2 separate regions of the Homo sapiens genome follow, and region 1 is linked to region 2. Evidence: promoter capture Hi-C in human tissues and cell types (Jung and others, 2019). All regions are on one chromosome and are shown on one strand. The core of a region is centred on a gene start or on the middle of the fragment in contact, and the rest is flanking DNA. Distances in the headings are between cores, read along the strand shown. Region 1 has its middle 11 kb from the start of LINC02530. Region 2 holds the start of SMIM13 (small integral membrane protein 13).

The links. Contacts are between HindIII fragments. The study calls those that stand out against the background at their distance.
Region 1: a contact is called between a fragment that was not itself captured here and the fragment with the promoter of SMIM13 in region 2, in 1 of the 25 tissues and cell types used here (spleen).

Annotation. Positions count from the first base shown.
Region 1 is chr6:12,593,836-12,599,501 of GRCh38, forward strand. No RefSeq gene overlaps it. Among named protein-coding and RNA genes, the nearest start is that of LINC02530, 11 kb to the left of the region's middle. The HindIII fragment of the contact is 5,512 bases long and covers 1-4,733 here.
Region 2 is chr6:11,089,509-11,095,138 of GRCh38, forward strand. SMIM13 (small integral membrane protein 13) reads left to right here and starts at 4,326. Exons shown (of 2, transcript NM_001135575.2): 1 at 4,326-4,881. The coding sequence starts at 4,806. RefSeq lists enhancers at 3,933-4,473, 4,016-4,225, 4,474-5,015, 4,896-5,015 and a silencer at 4,486-4,795. The HindIII fragment of the contact is 6,020 bases long and covers 2,214-5,630 here.

The DNA of each region.
Region 1 (5,666 bases), core at 728-3,227, 1.5 Mb after region 2:
AGGCCACTGAGTTTGCCACCCAGTTGACGCATAAGAAGCAACTTGAGAAGGACTCCAAAAGCAGCAGGTCAGCAAGTGGAAACCAGCATTGAATCAGCTGAATGGGTACCTGGAAGTGGGGTGAATGTTAAGTGTCAGTTTGCCTGCAATCGCCCCCGCTATGTATTCCTGTCCCAGAGTAATCATTAACAGCACTCCTGTTAGTGGCAGCAAATTTGTATGGGTCTGCAGCAACCTCAGCTCTCGCCTCCTCAGAAGAAAGCATTCAACTGAGGGGCCTATAGCAGAGTAAGAGACCGAGGCAAGTTTGAGAGCAGGAGTGAAAGCTTATTAAACAGCTTCAGAACAGGAACAAAAGGAAATAAAGCACCCTTGCAAGAGGGCCACGTGGGCAACTTGAGAGCTCAAGAGCGCTATTTGACTTCTGACTTGGGGTTTTATATGTTGGCACGTTTCTGAGGAGTTGTGCCTCTTCTCCCCTGAGCCTTTCCTTAGGGCAGCCTGTCTGCATGAGCAGTGACCTCCCAGCTCTTGGGAGGGGAGGTGCCGTGTGTTTACTGGAGTTGTGCGCATGCTCACTTGAAGCATTCTTCCCTTATCAGTCGAGCGTTCCCATAAGGTCATATCCAGTTAAACTCTGCCATTTTGCCTCTTAGTTTACAGGTGTCAGCCCACTTGCCCAGCTCCTGAGATCTTACTGGGAAGCTGCTGATCACCAGTTTCAGGTGTTTCTATTGAGAGACTGCCTTTCCCTGCATGGGTTGCAACCAATGATTGTTTTAGAGAGACAATTGACAACTGCCTGACCATCACCTGACGGTTGTTTGACTTTCCCATGCGGGGGAGTGGGGAAGCCTCTCTTGCTCTGCTCATCTCTGCCTGACTACCTACTGTAACACTTCTTTCACTTTCAAAAGTGTCCCAATTTGACCATAAATAATGTGGTTAACCCGTACATAAAGGAAGAAATGTAATGTGCTGTGGGAGGAGAAGGGCTCATGCAGGAAGACCTCTTAAAAAGGGACTATCTAGGGCTTAGATGCTGTGGCTCTAATTGGCAAAGAAGTGTGGTAAAACTTTTAAAAAAAATATTAAAGAGAGGAAAAGAAGGAGAGAAGGAGGAGGATAATTATTTTTGTGTTTATTTAGATCTATACAAAGAAACACACAATGGAAGTAGTAATTTCTTTGACCAACTTTTCTTCTGCTTTGAGCTTCTGAAGAGCATGCCTGGGCTTTCTTTCACCTCAATTTCATTTTCATCTGAGATAAGTAAAAGATATATGGGAACTGGCATTATCTAAGTTAATTTAGAGATTAGGGTGAGTTCATTTCCAGCTCTTCATCTTGCCTGTGGAGGAAAGGCTGGAAGCTTCCTACTCTTTCACATCACAGAGCTTGTGACCTGTAATTTTTGCTGTTTCTCAATCTGCATTCTTGTAGCTTTGTTCATTAATGGAATGCTGTAATTTATGAGCTTTCCTCTTTTGACCCTTTAAGAGAACTTTATCAGCATTCTCTAATTTTATTAACAAAACAAAAGAAACTATTTTTAGGAACGATGATCACATAAGGCTGAACCCAGACCATCCCAAGCAGATGTTGCGGTCCTGCAAAGTGGTCCCGTGAGGTAGTTGCTCCAACACGTGGTCTCAGCTCAGAAGTCACTGTTTTTGCAAACGTTGTCCTTAAAGGAGGAACAAGGTGCAGAACTTTTGTTTCTCTTTTCCTTTCTTTTGAAATATCAATTTGCCTATAACCATAGGGTAAATAACAGTCTATAGGAAAAAGGGGAAGCGATGTAGAGTTAAACAGAGGAAGGAGTAAGCAGAAAAAGTAACAGGTCACACAGAAACCAAGAAACTACAAGTTATAATGATGGTGGTTCCGTTTTCTTCCTGCATCTATGATTTCGAAACGGGCTAAATTGGGATGGGTAAGATCTAATTGGGATTCCCCCCAGATGCAACATCTTTGTGAATTTGTGGATGGGACCAGATAAGAAACTCGTGGAGGAAGGAGATTCAAATGAGCAGATTTCAGTATCCTTCAGGCAAACCCAGCCTTGAGTATTTCTCAGCTTTTGGAGATCCCAGGAAAAACATAAATGATGGAGTCACTAGGAGATAAACAATGTAATTTGACTCAAGAGAATGGGCAGAAAATCAGACACCCTAGGAGAAAAAAACAACCTGCTATTTGTAAATTTATTCATGGTGGTCAAGATCAATAACAGCAATCAAACGGTTTAGTTGCACGGAGGAAAACTTTATTTACTGGTCCCAGGCATGCTAAGCTCTGCACACAGATTTCCTGGGTGCAGGAGGATCACCTAGAATTAATTGTAAAAAGTTGCATCATATCCAAGACGTATTTGTCAGCAAAAAGACTCACACAAGAGGTTTAAACTGATGAATACCCACTCTGATGGCTCAGTAAATACTATCAGTGATGCCTTAATTTTTCTTGGTTTTAAGGATGTCTTTCTTCTATATAAGCACTTCATTTCTCCCTTTTAGTTGCTTCATACAAGAGTAATCAATTGATATGTTAGACTTTCACTGGACATTTCATGGCAAAAGGAATATTGACCCAGTATTGACATTAATAATACACATAAAGGAGAATGGCAGGCAAACCTACAAAAATCTCTCCCTATCAACACAGACTCCAGCAAAGGTCATAGGAGAGTGGAGCATTTACAGAGAGGTGAAAAGTATTGACAGAGATTAGCATGGAGCAGGGAAGAGAGACATACAATTTGTGTTTTAGAGCATGGCTGTCCCTCATATACATGCTTGTTCAATTTTTATTAAGGCAATGTACCAAGTGTTTATTTTTTTCCCTACTCCTCCAAATAATGAGCAAGGTCATCTCTTTCCCAGAATGAAAAATGTGGTGATGGTGGCTTCCTCCCTGAGAAACTAGCTGAGCCTATTAGCAGGGAAGCCACCCAGAAGGAAGGCTTCCACGTGTCAGGATGGATTCTTTCTCTGTAATATTTGAGCTCATTTGCTTCTCCAGGCAAATAGTAGTGTCTCTCCTTTTTAAAACAAATACACTTGGGAGGAGTCTTATTTTAAGTGTTGTTGACTTTTGGATTAATTATTAAGGTGGTGTTTGGGACAAATTAGAATATAGTCAGCTGAGGGCAAAGATGACTGTTTCAGAAGGGGAAGGCTATTGATGGGTACGGGAAGTGGAGCTGAAGAGAGATGGCAGAGACATCAGGAGACAGAAGATGATGGAAGAGAAGAGAAGTGGGAAGAAGATGAAGATGAATTTCTCTGATTAAAACATTTTATCTAAATTAATTCTAGCCATTCTTCTGGGAATTCGCTCATGCTCTTCCTTGCAATGTGTGTTCCTGGGGCAGACATTTATTGACCAGCTGCAGTGTTCCAGGCACTTTACTCAAACCTAGCGATTCAAAAGTGAGTAAGTTATAGGGATGGCTTCTATAACAGATAACATGCTAGAGGAAATGGCATCTAATGTGAGCTTTGAAGAGTGAATAAGCATTCACAAAGGAGGCAGTAGTGTGGAGCAGGACAGGGCCATTTGTGATTCCCAACTCAAATGAACACTCAAACATTGCTTGCACTTTTTTCAACTCTTCCTCAGAGTCACTAACTCTATACTTTGTAGTGCTGAGCCTTCAACGCTGCCCTATATCTATTTACTGTCAGGAAATAAACTAATTTTCTGTTTCTCGAAAAAAGAGAGACCACCGTTCATGAAAATCTTCCATTTATTTTTGCCATCACCTATCCATCCATATCTCCCTCCACCCCATCACCTGGTCTCATAGGAAAATGTATTCCCTCTTCCTCCTAGATAAAACCCAGCCTTTCTTCAAGTCACTGAGACCTGGACCTTTCACATCTCACCTGGAAGCTATGAAATCATCATCTCCATTATCTTTGCATCTTTATCCTCTTCCTTAGGTTCAGCATGAACAAAAGCTCAGCTCCTCTCCATTTCAAAAAGCAAACATGCATATGCACACATGCACACGCACACACAGAAAAACTCTTATTAAAATAATCCCAATCTGTTTTTCCCCTACCAGTACTTAGATTGTTTTATTAATCTCCTCATTGAAAAATCAATGAACTCATCTTAATTCTCATTCTAATTGATCTTTCTGCACCATTGTATATTGCTGATCTTTTCTTCCTTCTTAGAATGCTCTCCTTTCTAAGTAAGATACTCATGGAATACTCTCCTTTCTGAAATATTGACTCTTTACCAGTTCCCTTCCTTTTAGCTGTCTCCTCCTGACTTATTAGTCCTTATCCCTTAAATGTTCGTAGTCTCCAGGGTTCAGACCTTGACCCAATTCTCACTCCATTACCTTTCCCAAGCAATTTTATTCACTTGTAGGGATTACTTTCTCTGACTTCTCACACCAAACCAACAGCAATTTATGTTAGATCTTCCTTCCTAACATTAATCAATTCTAACCTCCTCTCTACATCCCATCTACTGTCACTACTCAGCTTTGGCCATCCTCATCTCCCACCTGGTTTAGAATAAAAGCCTCCTAATGCATCTCTCTGCCTCTTCTGGCCACCCTCCAATTCTTTAAAGCTGTGCAAGAGTGATGTTTCTAAGCGATAAATTTTATCTCTCTGCTATCCTTCTTAAAACACTTGAGCGGCTCCTCAATGCTTTCAGAAGAAAGTCCATATCCTTAATCAAAATTCTCACTGTGATGCAGCAAATTATTTAAGACTTTTCACAATATACTTTTCTGATGTCTCCTCCCCTTCCTTACCCACCAAGCATACACTTGGAAAGATTTTTCATCGTGATTTTTCAATCATGCCATGGTTTTCAAACCTCGTGCTTTTGCTTCTGCTTAAAGTTGAGCCTGGAATACCTTAAATTTACTTACTTGAAAAAATTGCATTTATTCTTCAAAATACAAATAAAATACTTCCTCTCTGAAGCATTTCTTGATATTCCTCCTTACTCTTTCCACTGTGCAAATACACATATCTCAACCAAAGTTAGTTATTATTTCCTCTATATCCCTATCATATTTAATTCCTTCCATTACTTATCACTCATACCAGATTGTTTTATGGCTCTATGATCGCTGTGTTCCTCCTGGGAAATTAAAGACTTAATCCAGCATGACATGGACAGTTGATGTCACAACCAGAACAACAATGATCTAGAGTGCATAAGCCAGTTAGCCATCTCTTAGGCCATGCTGTGTGGTTGATATCATCCTGCCAGAAGGGAAAGACATAGATCTGATAACCTCTGTAAGTCTCCATCTGCTACCGCCATGATTCTATGAATAACCTCTTTAAACATTGCTTCATGACAGAATCTACATAGCTGAGGCCTTTGTTTTCTAAAGGCTACCCTGGGAACAGCAGCAGGAAAAACAGCATCTCTCTCACCACATCATAGGCATCATTAGTGAAGGTGATATCTTGGTAGTGTTCAGACTTGACATCATTCCTAGATGCCTGGATAAACAGAATGACATTTTTAGGACTGCCCCATAAACTGAATCGTTCTGAAAAGTGCCCCAGTGACCCAAGTGGTTGGGCTTTCTGAGTGGTGATTTACTGTGGCTTATGGGGTAGTTGAATGAATTAATTGTGCTTAATTGAGCTATTAGTTCAAAGATCTTTCTGAAGATCAAT
Region 2 (5,630 bases), core at 3,076-5,575:
GATGGGGTTTCACTGTGTTAGCCAGGATGGTCTCGATCTCCTGACCTCATGATCCGCCTGCCTTGGCCTCCCAAAGTGCTGGGATTACAGACGTAAGCCACTATGCCCGGCCCCAGACATAGTATTATTACACCACCTGAGCTGCCTCCCTCATGGAAGGAAATAGCAGAGGAGGAAAGGTAAGTGTTCCCCCACTAAGAATCAGATATGGGAAAGAAGACATATGTACATATTTGTATTTACATGTGTGTATTTATACTGCTGTGGTTTGAATGTTGGTGTCCCCCCAAAATTCTTATGTTGGAACCCAATGCCCAATGTGACACTATTAAGAAGTGGGGCTTGTGGGAAATGATTAGGTCATGAGGACTCCACCCTCTTGAATGAGATTAGTACCCTTGTAAAAGAAGCTCAAGGGCTGGGTGTGGTGGCTCATGCCTATAATCCTAACACTTTGGGAGGCTGAGGCCAGCGGATCACTTGAGTCTGGGAGTTTGAGACCAGCCTGGGCAACATGGTGGAACCCCATCTCTACAAAAAATACAAAAAATTAGCCAGGAGTGGTGGTGCATGCCTATAGACCCAGCTACTCTAAAGGCTGAGGTGGAAAGATCAGCTGAGCCCAGGTATGTCGAGGCTGCAGTGAGCCATGATCGTGCCACTGCACTCTAGCCTGGGCGGAGAGTGATAACTTGTCTCAGAAAAAAACAAAAACAAAAACAAAAGAACTCGAAAAGCTTGAGCGAACTGCCTTGCCTCTTCCACCTTGTAAGGACACAGCAAGAGGTGCCATCTATGAAGCAGCGAGCCCTCACCAGACATTGAATCTGCTGGCACTTTGATCTTGGACTTCTTAGCCTCCAAAACTGTATGCAATAAATTTCTGTTGTTTACAAACTACCCAATCTAAGGTATTTTGTTACAGCAGCCTGAAGTAAGACATATATGAACATATATATATATATATATATATATATGAAGTGCTAAATATAAAACAATCCAAGGGCTATCACAAGGTGGGCACACAATTGCTAAATGTAATTTACACTAGCATTTCTCAAGTCTGTTCATCAAAACATGGAGAACATTAAAAAAATTACAGGTCCTCTATACCTCCTTCCCTGCCTTCAGTATTCCTGATATGAAAGTTACGAAATTTTTTTTTTTTTTTTAAACAGAGTCTTGCTTTGTCTCCCAGGCTGGAGTGCAGTGGTGTGATCTTGGCTCACTGCGACCTCCATCTCCCGGGTTCCACAAATTCTCCCTCCTCAGCTTCCCAAGTAGCTGGGATTACAGGCACGTGCCACCATGCCTGGCTAAATTTTTTTGCATTTTTAGTAGAGATGAGGTTTCACCTTGTGGTCCAGGCTGGTCTTGAACTCCTGACCTCAAGTGATCCTCCTGCCTCGGCCTCCCAAAGTGCTGGGATTACAGGCATGAGCCACTGCGCCCGGCCCAAAATCTAGGAATGTTTTTAAAGCTCCCTGGATAATTCCAATGTATAAACAAGACTGATAACTAGGTGTAGTGGCTCACGCCTGTAATTCCATCACTTTGGGAGGCCAACGCAGGCAGATTACTTGAGCGCAGGAGTTCGAGACCAGCCTAGGTAATATGACGAAAACCTATCTCTACAAAAAATAAAATTAGCAGGGCATGGTGATGCACGCCTGTGGTCCCAGCTACTCAGGAGGCTGAGGTGGGAGGATCACTTGAGTCCGGGAGGTCGAGGCTGCAGTAAGCCATTGGCTTAGAGGAGCTAGACAGACGAGTGAACAGGAGTCAGGGAGGTCTTATTGAGGAGGAATGTGGACAGACATTGCAGAAGTAGGAGTGAGGCTATCAGAAAGGAGGAAGCAGAACATTTTATATAGGGAAGAGAATAGTAAAAGGACTCTGGAAATAGCTGTGGCTTATTTTTTTATTTTTATTAAAATGGAGTCTCACTCTATCACCCAGGCTGGAGTGCAGTGGTGTGATCTTGGCTCACTGCAACCTCTGCCTCCTGGGCTTAAGCGATTCTCCAGCCTCCTGAGTAGCTGGGATTACAGGCATCTGCCAGCACGCCCAGCTAATTTTTGTACTTTTAGTAGAGACGAGGTTTCACCATGTTGGCCAGGCTGGTCTTGAACTCCTGACCTCAGGTGATCTGTCCACCTCAGCCCCGAAAGTGCTGGGATTACAGGTGTGAGCCACTGCATCCGGCCAGCTGTGGCAGACAGGATGAGACTGTCTCAAAAACAAAAATAAAAAACAACCATGCTTAGGCCCTACTCCCAGAGATTCTGTTCATTTGGTATGGGGATGAGGTCTAGCCATTCGTAATTTATAAATCTCCCTACGTGATTTGAAATGTGCATCCAGAGTTGAGAAACATTGAAAAGGCTTAGAGCAATGGCCAGGTTTATTTCCTTCTTGTGGGTTTTGCACTAGCTGTTCCCTTTACCTGGTATGTTCTTCTCTAGGTCTTTCCATGAATCCTTGTTGTCATTCAGGACTCAGATTAAATGTTACTTCCTCAGGAAGACCTTCCCTGATCCCCCAACAAGCTAAAATAACACACCTACATTTATCACACTGTCTTGCTATTAATAGCAGTTCCTGAGATTTCTCTATTTATGCTTATTGTCTGTTTTTTTCCAACTGTCATATAAGCATCTTGAGTAAAGGCACTTTGTCTTATTCACTGCTGTATCCCCAGCACTTAGAACAGTGCCTGGCCCCTATAGGTATTCCAATATATGTGAATCAAAGAGAAAAAGGTCCTTTAAAATAAATTATTTTAGTTCTTCCGATGGCTGTTTTCTTTTCTTTTCTTTTTTTTTTTTTTTTTGATAAGAGTCTCTCTGTTGCCCAAGCTGGAGTGCAGTGGTGTGATCTCGGCACACTGCAACCTTGGCCTCCTGGGTTCAAGCGATTCTCCTGCCTCAGCCTCCTGAGTAGCTGGAATTACAGGCGCCCACCACTACCCCCGGCTAATTTTTGTATTTTTAGTAGAGACAGGGTTTCACCATGTTGGCCAGGCTGGTCTCGAACTCCTGACTTCAGGTGATCTGCTCGCCTTAGCCTCCCAAAGTGCTGGGATTACAGGCGTGAGCCACCTCGCCTAGCCCTGACGCGTATTTTCAACTGGCTTTTAATAAAATGTGTTTTAATTATGCAACATAATTGAACCACCCATGAAAAAAGCACACACTGATTTTTTGTAAATATATCTTAATTGCACTGGGTTCATTCTCTTCACAGGAATCTATATTAAATCTGTTGCAAAGCAAGTAATTATCCTTTAATGTATTTTTATACATGGTATTTGTTCCTAATGTTGCTTCTTAGGGAATACAGTTCACATAGTAGGGCAGCTGGGTATGGCAGGATACATTTATTAAATCAAGGGATTGCTGCTTAGAACTTTTGTGTTTGTTTTTGGAGACAGAAGACAGGAAACTGTAATTTTTAGAAGAGTAAAAAGGTATCTCAGGGAGCAAAAGAATCACAGGAAAACTCGAAGGCTCTGATTCCTTCTAAAAGAGGGACACATTTACCCTCTATTCTTCTGGGGGCACCTCTTTAACAAATGAATGTAATCTGGCGGAAGTGGGGAGTTTCAATTTTGGGTGGAGATACAGTAGTTGAGATTACTACAGTGTCTTGTTTCGTAGAGGTGTAAGCCAGTGCGGCAAAATCTCCAAGCTTGGTCTCAAGGAGGCAGCTGGGTCTAACTTACAACTCAGGCAGGTGATTTGAGGGCAGTGCAGCTGTCCTTAAGTCACCCGCGGGCCATTTCTGAAATGCTTTACTTACGAAAAGATAGAACATAACATCTGTTGCAGGGGGAAAATGAGATTTCGTGTCCTGACCCGCGTCTGCGGCAGGGACCTGAGTTCTTCCTCCAAGTCCCAAATAGCCAACCTTCGCCCCCGGCAACAGGGCTAGGTGCACGAGCAACCAGTTTTTCAGGCAGCCGCCTCCTCTTTCCTCTCTCGCCGTACTTCATCGATTACGGCTAGAAACAAAACGACTTTGTATACGGAGTAATGGTTGAAATCTCACTGGCGCCTCAGCAGGACGGGCAGCCAGATCCGCGGCTTTGGAGAAGGCCAGCCCACGGTCGTCCGACTGAGGCGACTTGAGCAAGACCAAAGGCAGAGCCGCCCGAGAATGAAAGCAGCGAAGCCCGAGTGGCGGTGCATTCTGGGAGTTGTAGTCCCTGCGAGACAACGCCGTCCCGACTCCACCAGGCTCTGCACTCCATCTCCCAGCCGACCCCGCGCCGCGGAGGAGGCGAGCTTGGTGATGAGCTGCCCCAGCGGTAGGGGGCCTGGGGCGGAGAAGCCGCTACAGCCGCGGCCGGGCGACGCTGACATCTGGCATCCCTGGGGTCTCAGAGACACGGGTGGACAGCGACGAGGGCCTTGTGGCCGCCGTGTGTACCCGTGCTTACCCTCTGTCCTCCCTACAGGCGCGCGGCGTCCGCCATGGAAGCGCATCCGACCGCTGGGGTCTCTGGGTGCCGCGGCCTCGGCTCTCCGGGGCGATGAGGGACTAGAGGCGCCCTGAGGCCCGCCTGCCTCCCGCGCTCTGGCCACCCCGGCGGGAAAAGGATCGGGCGGGCGGGCGGTCCCACAGTGCCCGCCTTTGCGCCGCCCCACCCCCTGGGGGCGCTGCCGAGGGGGCGCCAGCCGCCCATGCCGCCCCGGCGCCCAGCCGCGCCTGGCGCCCGCCGCTGAAGCGCAGGACGCGCCGCCGCCCGCGCTCACCGCCGTCCGCGCCAGCCGCCCCGAGCCGACTGCCCTTCTGCCCCCAAGATGTGGCACAGCGTCGGGCTGACTCTGCTTGTGTTCGTGGCCACGCTGCTGATCGTCCTGCTGCTGATGGTGTGCGGTGAGTGGGGGCGGTAGCCGCGAGGCAGTTCCACACGCCGGGTCGCTGATCTGCTGGGGTTTTTTTTGTTGTTTGTTTTTTTGAAAAAAACAAAAGGGCGTGGACGGACAATTGTCTTAAAATCAACTGTTGTCCCTTAGCCTCTAGGGCTGAGCGCAGAGGTGGGCCCTTTACTCATGGCCGGCCCTCGGGCATCCTGGGGAGGGAAAGGACAGGCTCCAGGGCTTCCTGCCTCTGAGTGAAACTCAGCCTTGCTTCACCGGCAGCGTCTGCTCTTTCATTCTCACCACAGGCTGCCCAGATTGTAACCTTGGCCTGCATTCGAAGGTGAAGTGATTGATTGGTCCTTTTTCATTTGCACAGATTCTGACCTTAATAATGAGAGGTGTCACCTTCGTTTCATCAGCGAGTGGGGTAGAGTTGGGTTTTCAGCACGCGTGAAATTGTTTACTTAGAGTTCAGCCTTAAACTCAATTCCAAGCAGAGATGTGGAGACCAGGCAGAGCTTAGAAACACCGGCTATATTAAACTTGCAGGGTCGGGTAACCTAACTCTCAGTTCTATAATAATGGTGCTATTTCGAATGCTGTGCGTATTTTCCTTCTTGGAATGAGAGGACGTTCAACTTTTTTCTTCAAATAATGGTAGCCCAATTTTAGATCTTTTTGATTTCTTTGTACATGTATAGTAGCTGATAACCACAGGTCTCTTAGCAAAGTGGCTAAGCAATTGTGAAAATCTAAAAAGTA